Regions from separate parts of the Homo sapiens genome. Here region 1 is linked to region 2. Evidence: promoter capture Hi-C in human tissues and cell types (Jung and others, 2019). All regions are on one chromosome and are shown on one strand. The core of a region is centred on a gene start or on the middle of the fragment in contact, and the rest is flanking DNA. Distances in the headings are between cores, read along the strand shown. Region 1 overlaps C7 (complement C7). Region 2 holds the start of GHR (growth hormone receptor).

Region 1 (4,877 bases), core at 2,118-4,617, 1.5 Mb after region 2:
TTTTTGTATAAACTACTTTTGTTTTTTTTAATAATCTACTTTTGTTGTAGCTTTGTAGTATAATTTAAAAGCAGGTAGTGTGATACCTCCAGCACTGTTATTATTCAGAATTTCTTTAGCTACTTGGAGTCTTTTGCTGTTTCATAAATTTTTAGAATTTTTTCTATGTCTGTGAATAATTTCATTGGTATCTTGATAGAGATTACATTGAATCTGTAGATCACTTTGGGGAGTATAGATATTTTAATGGTATTAATTTTTCCAATCCATGAGCATGGGATATCTTTCCTTTTTTGTGTTCTCTTAAATTACGTTCATCAGTGTTTTATAGTATTTTTTGTAGAATCTTTAACTTCTTTGATTAAATTTATTCCTTGGTATTTTATTTTATAGCTTTTATAAATGGAATTTATTTCTTGATTTTCTTTTCAGAACCATCTCTGTTAGCATGTAGGAATGCTGCTGATTTTTGCATGTTAATTTGGTAGCCTGCAAATTTACTGAATTAATTTATCACTGCTAAGATTTATTTAGTGTAGTCTTTCATTTTTTTTTTTTTTTGGAGACAGAGTCTTGCTCTGTCGCCCAGGCTGAAGTGCAGTGGCATCATTTTGGCTAACTGCAACCTCAGCCTCCCAAGTTCAAGCAATTCTCCTGCCTCAGCCTCCTGAGTAGCTGAGATTATAGGCGTGCACCACCACGCCCAGTGAAGTTTTGTATTTTTAGTAGAGATGGGGTTTCCCCATGTTGGGCAGGCTGGTCTCAAACTCCTAACCTCAGGTGATCCACCCTCCTTGGCCTCCCAAAGTGCTGGGATTATGGGCATGAGCCACCATGCCCAGCCTACATTTTTTTCTAAATATAAGTTCATGTTGTTTAAAAGCAAGAATAACTTGACCTCTTCCCTTTAAATTTGAATGCCATTTATTTTGTTGTCTTGCCTAATTGCTATCGTTAGGACTTTCAGTATTATATTGAATAAAAATGGTGACAGTGAGGAAAAATAAAAAATAAATGTTTGGTAGAATTCAGCCATGAAGCCATCAAGTCCTCTGCTTTTTTTTTTTTTTTTTTAATGGGAGAACTTTTATTACAGATTCAATCTTTTTACTCATTATTGGTATGTTCAGATTTTCCATTTCTTTATGATTCAGTCTTTGTATGTTGTATGCTTTGGAGCACCTAAACATATAAAACAGATATTTATATTTATACAATATGTAAATATTGTATTGCAACCCATCTCTTTCTTCAGATCCACAGGATCTGATGGATTGCAATGTAACAGTAGAAAACTTCCATACCTCACTTTCAATGCTGGAAGATCATCCAGACAGAAAATTAATAAGAAAACATTCAACTTGAACAACACTTTACAGAAACACTTTACAGGACCTAAATGAACAGAAGAATTTAACCACTTCTTCTTAGTTATCCAATTTGTTGATGTATAATTGTTGATGATAGTCCCTGATGATCTTTTGTATTTTTGTGGTATTATGAATCTTCTTTTTTTTAAATTAATCTAGTTTGTCAAATTTGTTCATCTTTTCAAAAAAGAACTTATTTTATCTATCTTTTGTATTGTTTTTCTAGTCTCTATTTCATTTATTTCTGCTCTGATTTTTATTATTTCCTTTCTTATGCTAACTTTGGCTTAGTTTATTCTTCTTTTTCTGTTTCCTTGAGGTATGACATTAGCTTATTTATTTTAAATCTTTCTTCTCTTTGATGTAGACATTTATTGTTATAAACGTTCCTCTTTGAACTGTTTTTGCTGTATCCCATATGTTTGCTATGTTGTGTTTCCATTTTTGTTTATCTTAAGATAACAAGATTTTTATCTTGTTATCTAAAGATTTTTAATTTCCCTTTTAATTTCATTGACCTATTGGTTGTTGAGGAGCATGCTAATTTCCATATATTTGTGGATTTTTCAAAATTCCCCCTATATTCATTCATTTATTTTTATTTATTTATTTTTAGAGACAGGGTCTTTTTCTGTCACCCAGGCTGGAGTGCACTCGCACAGTCATAGCTACTGCAGCCTTGAACTCCTGGACTTAAGCAATCCTCCCACCTCAGCTTTCCAATTAGCTGGGACTACAGGTGCATAACATGACACCTAGCTTCCTCCCATAATTGATTTCTAGTGTCATATCACTGTGGTCAGAAAAGATACTTGAGGCCAGTTGTGGTGGCTCACACCTGTAATCCCAGCACTTTGGGAGGCCAAGGTGGGCAGATCACTTGAGGTTAGGAGTTTGAGTCCAGCCTGGCCAACATGGTGAAACCCCGTCTCTACTAAAAATACAAAAATTAACTGGATGTGGTGGTGCACGCCTGTAGTCCCAGCTGCTCGGAAGGGATGAGGTGGGAGAATCACTTGAGCCTGGGAGGTGGAGGTTGTAGTGAGCTGAGATCAGACCACTGCACTACAGGCTGGGTGACAGAGCAAGACTCCAACTCAAAAAAAAAAAAAAAGATACTTGATATAATTTCAATCTTCTTAAATTTGCTGAAGCTTGTTTTTCCCCCTAAAATGTTATCTGTCCTGGAGAAAGTTCTGTGTGCACTTGAGAAGAATGTGCATTCTGTTGCTGTTGGATGGAATGTTCTGTGTGTGTGTGTGTGTGTGTGTGTGTGTGTGTGTGTGTGTGTCTGTTAGATTCATTAGGTCTAAAGCGATTTTCAAATCCAATGTTTTCTTACTAATTTTCTGGATTATCTTTCATTGTTGAAAGTGGCGTATTGAAATACCCTACTATAATTGTATTGCAATCTGTCTCTTCCATCATATCCTTAATATTTATTTTATATATTTAGGTTCTCTGAAGTTGGGTGCATATATATTTACAATTGTTATACCCTCTTGATGAGTTGACTCCTTTATCATCATATAATGTCCTTACTTTTTTTTTTTACAGTTTTTGACTTTAAGTCTATTTTGTCTTATATAAGTATAGTTATCCCTGCTTTCTTTTGGTTTCTATTGATGTGGAATATCTTTCTTCCATTGCCTAATTTTCAATCTGTGTGCCCTTAAAAGTGAGGTGAGTTTCCTGCAGGTAACGTATAGTTGGCTCTTGTTTTTTTATTCATTCACTTACTCTATATCTTTTTACTGGAGAACTTAATTCATTTACATTCAAGGTAATTATTGATAGATAAGGACTTACTACTGCCATTTTGTTATGTTGTTGTTGTTGTTTTTCTTGTTGTTGTTGTTGTGGTATTGTAGATACTTTTTTTTTGGAGATAGGGCCTCTCTTGCCCAGGCTGGAGTGCGGTAGTGTGATCACAGCTCACTGCACCCTCGACCTCCCAGGCTCAAATGATGCTCCCACCTCAGCCTTTGTGAGTAGCTGGGACCACAGGTACGTGCCACCACATCCAGCTAATTTTTTTTGAAGTTATTGTAGAGATAGGGCCACCCTATGTTGCCCAGGCTGGAAGATACATTTTTCTTTCTTTCTGTCTTGTTGTCTTTGTGGTTTCGCAGTTTTCAATAGTGGTATTCTTTGAATACTATTTCTGTTTTGTGCTTCTACTAAAGATTTTTGCTTTGTGCTTATTATGAGGCTTCCAGAGAACATCTTATAATCACAACAGCTTATTTCAAGGTGATTACAACTTAACTTTGCATACAACTCTACATTTTTACTCTCCCGTCAAACAGTTTATATTTTTTTGATGTCAGAATTTACATCATGTGTATCCTTTGAAAAGTTATTTTAGTGTTACTATAGTTGTCATTAATAGTTCTAGCTTACATTTCTTAAATGATTTGAAAACTATTACATTTGTACAAGTCAAGATTTGTGACTTGGCAGTATAAAAAGTGAAAGAACCATGGAGAAGGCTAAGTGACTCTGCTTATCTTTTTAAGTTTCTATTTTAAATAGAAGTTTGAAGGATCTTCAAAAAATTAAAAATAGAACAAGCATATGATTCAGCAATCCCCTACAGGGTATATAGCCAAAGTAAATGAAATCAGTATATCAAAGAGAAATGTGCACTCCCATGTTCATTGCTGCATTATTTACAATAGCCAAGATACAGAACCAACCTAAGTGTCCATCAAAGGATAAGGGGATAAAGAAAATGTGGTAAAGAGACACAATGAAATAGTACTTGGCCTTAAAAAAAGAAGAAAATTCTGTCATTTGTGACAACATGGATTAACCCAGATAACATTATGTTAAGTGAAATAAAACAAGCAGAAATAAAACATTCAGTATTTTTCTTTCTAGAAAAATACTTATATTTGGAATCTAAAAATGTTGAAGTCTAATAAGTAAAGAGTAAAATGGTTACCAAGGGCCATGGGGGCAGGGTGGGGATTGTTGAAGAGATGTTGGTCAAAGGTTACAAAACTTCAGTTACATAGAAGGAATAAGTTCAAGAGATCTATCATACAAAATGGTGACTTACTTAATACCAATATATTATATTCTTTTTCTTTTTTTTTTTTTTGAGATGGAGTCTCGCTCTGTCACTCAGGCTGGAGTGCATTGGCACAGTCTTGGCTCACTGCAACCTCTGCCTCCCAGATTCAAGTGATTCTCTTGCCTCAGCCTCCCAAGTAGCTGGGATTACAGGTGAGCGCCAACATGCCTGGCTAATTTTTGAATTTTTAGTAGAGACTGGGTTTCACTATGTTGGCCAGGCTGCTCTAGAACAATGTATTATATTCTTAAAAACTCCTAAGAGAGTAGATTTTAAGTATTCTCCCTACAAAAGTATGGGAGGTAATGCATATGGTTAATTAGCTCAATTGAGCCATTCTACAATATATACATATTTTATAACATCATGTTGTGCACAATAAATAGACACAATTTTTATTTGTCAGTTAAAAGAAATAAATTACAAAG
Region 2 (4,938 bases), core at 1-2,500:
AGTTCTGTCAAAACTTTAAGCCTGGTTGATTTTACAACCACTAGTGTGTCAAAAGCTGGGGGAGGTCGGCTCGCCACAATTTCCACTTACCCCAGTTCATGCGGACTGGTGGCTGTCACTCTACTGACCCCAGTTCCATCGGTGCCAACGTGCGGCTGCGGCCCGCACAAACGCGCAAAAGACCGCGCGCTCTGCGCGCTGTGTCCACGCGCACAGCTCGACCTCCCCAGTCTCTCCAGTCGCGCTGCCGGGGATTCTTCCCCGCGCAACAGCAGCAGCCTCGGCAGTTCCTGCCGCAGCCAGGCAGATGATGGCAAACAGAAACACACTAGCAAAACTTTTATGACTTTAACAAAACTGTCTCCGGAGTAAACCCCTCCACGTACACTACTCGCGGGCCAGAGCAGACGCCAGAGTGTGATGGTTCGTCTGTCGCCCGCAACTCCCTGCCGCCCTCACCAACTTCCAGACACACACACACACACACACACACACACACACACACACACACACACACTAGATTGGGTTACAACAACCCACCAGCAGAAAACAACTTCTTCGCAAGGAGGAGGGGAGCACAGCCAAGTCATCCGGAATAAAAAATTATCCGTGTAAATATATAAGACAGATCCTCCCGTTTTCATAAACAACTAGAGTCCCAGGGTTCACCCTCAGGCCCCCTGGCACAACAGGAGGAAAATAAAGCCAGACTCCCGGAGCCCCACTCCAGTACCTCCGAGCTTCGCCTCTGATCAGAGAGCGCGGGTTCGCGTCTGCGCTGGGGCCAATGGTGCCGGGGCCTCCGGCCCGCGTGGCCCCAGCCCGGGGTCCCCGCCGCCGCCCGGGCTCAGCAGCAGCCGCCGCCGCCACCGCCACTGTAGCAGCTGCTGCTGCCGCTGCCGCCGCCGCCGCCGCTCCCTAGCCCTCCTCCTCTTCCCATGGCTGCGCCCTGCTTGGCAGCTCGCGGGCTGTCAGGCTTGGGGAGGAGAGAGGGGGCGGGGTGAAACGGGAAGGGAGGATGGGAGGGCAGGGGTGGGAAAAGGCGGCCACCGTTCACCAGGGGTCACGCCGCGCCTGGCCCGCAGTCCCCCAGATCCAGGTTGCAGAAGCGAAGGCGAAGCGGACGTTCAAGGAGGCCAGTTCGAGAACTGCTGCGGAGAGGCCGAGTGCCGCCCGGGCCAAGCATTCCGAGTTGCTGGGATGAAGTCTTCCCGGCGAGGAGCTGGAGTTGGTGCGTGTCACTCTCAACTGAGCTGCGCGGCTCCTCCTAGAGGAAAATATTGGTAGTTGCAATACACTTCCTTCCTCTCCGCCTGCCCGTTCCAAATGAAAGCAGGACCTACAAGAGCGTTAAGTGCAGTCCACAGACTCAAAGAAACACTTACAAAAAGGTTAGCTATCTCCAGGAATGAGAGGAAGATCAGCGAGATACCTTGGAAAGCGTGTTTAGCCATCCAAATATTGCCTTTCCATCAACAATCAAGTTCCAAACTCCTGCTCACTGGGGCACAGTGAAAAGATAGTTAAAACTACGAAGGACTTTATTGTGGAGGTTAGAAGACGGAGACAGAGAGAATGAGTAATTTACCAAGGACACTCAGCATGTTAGCAGAGAGGTATCTGCTAGAGGACAGGGATGCAGGGAGAGCAGACACAGGCCCCAGCCTGAAGTTCCTGAGCCAGGAAAAGGGTTTTAACTCTGCCTCACGCTGGACATAGCTCATCTGTCAAATGCGAGCCCTGCCTACTTCATTCACAAGAAGTTGTAAAAGTGTTGCAGAAAGTTAAAGTTGTGCATAAGCATGTCATTTTTGTACAGCATCAAACCCCAAGTCACTATATGCTTTTCTGAGTAGAGAGTACAAAAATCTAGCTCCAGGTTGTCTCAGATCTGAAGGAGTAGCTAGTCATGCAATCTTTCCACTATTTACTGACGGTCAATTGTAATGTCACTTACTTATAAGCTTCTAACAGCTTTGGCTTACTAAAGACTTTTTTTTTTTAACAGAGCTCCCAGACACAAACCCAAGTTTATACCCAGAAAGAAATGTTTAAACAACTTAAAGGAACCAAGTTTCTTTTCTTTAGAATAAAATATCTATAGGGCTTTGAAGTAGTACACGGGAGCCAAGACTTGAGAAGGAACAGAGGACCAAAGACTCTGGGATAGCAGATATCACATAAGATACCCCTATTTTCAAAGGAATCAGATAAGTGAAAAACTGTTCCTTAGAATGCTTTCAGAAGCTCAGCTGTGGCTCAAATACCCCAGCTGTTCCAGACAGACACCTAGAATGAACGAAAAAGGAAAGATTCTGGAAGGGGCGTGTTTTATCATGGGGTGGGATGGTTATTGATCCTGAACTGCTCTTGTTCTATGGCATCTAAAAATAAGGAGGCATTTAGTTCCCCTAAGACTCTTCCCCAAACCATTGATTTCTGGGGCTTCATACTTTGCTGGAGCAATAGTGGTGCTTGGCTGTGTCTGGAGCTTTTAAAAGGGGAGGTACCCATATAGAGAAACTTGGGAAAGTAAAAGATTAGGGCACAGTCAAGAAAAACTCCTGCTGGGTGGTCCATACCTGCCAAGCTGGCTGACAGGGTAGTCCTGGCAGGAGTAGAGACCAGACAGGCCTCAAATGCTGACTCCACGCCTGTCTGAAATGACCTTCCAAGTTGGACCTTCTTCAGAGCCTGGCACTACCAACCTCTCTGTTTATATCCTCTCTGTGCCTTCTCATCCTTTGCCCTTCTTCCCTGAGCTAGAGAATCTTGATCTAGTTTAGGAGGTGCCAGACGGAGTCATAAAAGATATTCTAAATTCTATTGTTTATGCTCTGAGATGAGCTCAGGGCCATACTTAAAAAAATAAGAATTGACTTCTTTTTTTTTTTAAATCTGGGTTCAGCAATATCCTCCATTCTGTGTGCCATGAAACTAGACTACTCTGGCTGCTGCTCTGTCTTTGATTTTTAAAAAGTCATCATGCACAGAAAACATAGGAAAAGACACCTCAGTTAATACTATAGAACTAGATATAAACCTGCAACTGACATGAAGGGCAGTCTTTATTTTTAAGCCTCGTAAGTAAAGGTCCTTCAATCTCATATATGACCAGGTATTGGTCCATAGTAGTATGTGCCTCTTTATATATTCCAAATTGTGAGGGAAAATGTAGCAGGTATTGAGTTGATTAATTTGTTATAAGTTAAGGCATGCCAGAGCACATTTACCTTCTGAAGAATGAAACTGCATTTGCTCATGGTTTCCACTCTGCTTGGAAGATCCTACTTTGTCCACCCAGAGAAATCCTTCTTAATCTTAAAGTTCCAATCAATTGTTTACTTTCTCTCTGAAGGTCTTCCTGACTATTCCCCAGGGTGGAATTAATTAATTCTCCCTGTATCAGCACCTTTATAGGCCTTTATATCTTCTTTTATTAAATATTGCAGTTTTGTTGACATGTCTGCTTTTCTCATTAATTAAGAGATTTCTGAGGGAGAAACTATATATTCTTAATATCTGTACCTGCAATGTCTAGGTTAGTGCCCAGTATTTACAGAGTTTATAAAGCGTCCAATAAATAATCAAATTGAATGAAAAGTTGTATCTCTTGGATTTATATCTCTAACCCAGATCTCTCCACAGAGCTCCAGGCTAACAACTGGGTATCTCCATTTGGATGTCTAACAGACCTCTGAAACTTGACATGTCCACATCTGAACTCTGGTTCTTTCTCCTTAAACATACTCCAATCACAGTGGGTGACATTTCCATCTCAGTAGATGGCAACTACTTCCTGCCAGTTACCCAGGCCACAAACCTTTGAAATCATCCTTACTTCTTCTCTGCCAATCACATTCCACATTCAAAACTCTGTCTATTTTCTTGGAGAGGTCCAGAGACACCTGGTCTGAACCACCAGAATTTCTCAGATTACTGCAGTAGTCTCTCAACTCAACTGGTCTGCTTGCTTTGACAAACCCCACCCCTAATCCCCAACCAACACCAACAACAACCCAAAGTATAAATTCAGTTGCCATAGTCATTCCTTTTAAAATTAATATCATGTCATTCCTCAGCTCAAAACCCTCCAATGGTTCCCCATTCAAATCAGAATAAAATTCAAAATGGCCCATGAGACCCTACGTGAGCTATGTACCTTTGCCCCACACCTCATCTCCCATGAATTTCCCCATCACTGGGTCATCCATTCTGCTCCCAGCACACCGGCCTCCCTGCTGTTTCTTAAGCAGGCCAGGCAGACTCCTAACTTGAAGGCTTTTTGCTGGCTTTTCTCTCTGATTTAAACACACTTCCACAAATATTCATTTGCTTCCTCCTACAGTTCCTTGAAGTCTTTACTCAGATATTGGCTAACTTATCTTGTCCAACCTATTTTACCTTATTATGGCCTTACCTTATTATGGCCCACCCTTCCCCAGTCTTTTATACATCCCCAGTAGGGCTTAGCAAAAAATATAAACTGCCTTGAAGACAATAGAAACAATTAGAAAATAATTCTGATTATATATATTCAAGTGCAGATATCTAGGTCAGATCGCCATCTCCCCAAACCATAAAACACCACAGTATAAACTTCCTAAATCTACAGTTATCTGAGGTTAGAGCATGGCTTTAGTCACTCTGTTGTACTATAAAATGCCAAAGCTTCTTCTCAAAACAAAACAAAAGAGGCCAAAACACTTAAAGTAGCATTTTATAGCTGTTTTGTTTTATAGCATTTGTAGTTGAAGAACATAGGATTGTTAGTCAGGAGCCTTGGGATCCTGTGTGGGTCCTCTGTGATTTTGGGTAAATTAGTTACTAATCTCACAATGACTCCATTTCTTGGCCTATAGAAGGAAGGGGTTGCTCTCTGAGATCATTCAGCTGTAAAATAAAGTATTAGATTGATATTTGTAAATCAAATTATGA

Evidence for each region. The method cuts DNA at HindIII sites, captures the fragments that hold promoters and counts their contacts. A contact is called where the count stands out against the background at its distance.
Region 1: a fragment that was not itself captured here is called in contact with the fragment with the promoter of GHR in region 2 in 1 of the 25 tissues and cell types used here (aorta).

What each region holds. Positions count from the first base shown.
Region 1 is chr5:40,916,734-40,921,610 of GRCh38, reverse strand. All of the region lies in intron 1 of C7 (complement C7), which reads right to left. Among named protein-coding and RNA genes, the nearest start is that of C7, 9.7 kb to the right of the region's middle. The HindIII fragment of the contact is 5,596 bases long and covers 570-4,877 here.
Region 2 is chr5:42,419,751-42,424,688 of GRCh38, reverse strand. GHR (growth hormone receptor) reads right to left here and starts at 1,250. Exons shown (of 10, transcript NM_000163.5): 1 at 734-1,250. RefSeq lists promoters at 1-45, 210-557, 210-978, 1,176-1,276, 886-1,458 and 1 more, cis regulatory regions at 1,081-1,121, 1,459-1,967 and an enhancer at 1,105-1,254. The HindIII fragment of the contact is 10,174 bases long and covers 1-3,318 here.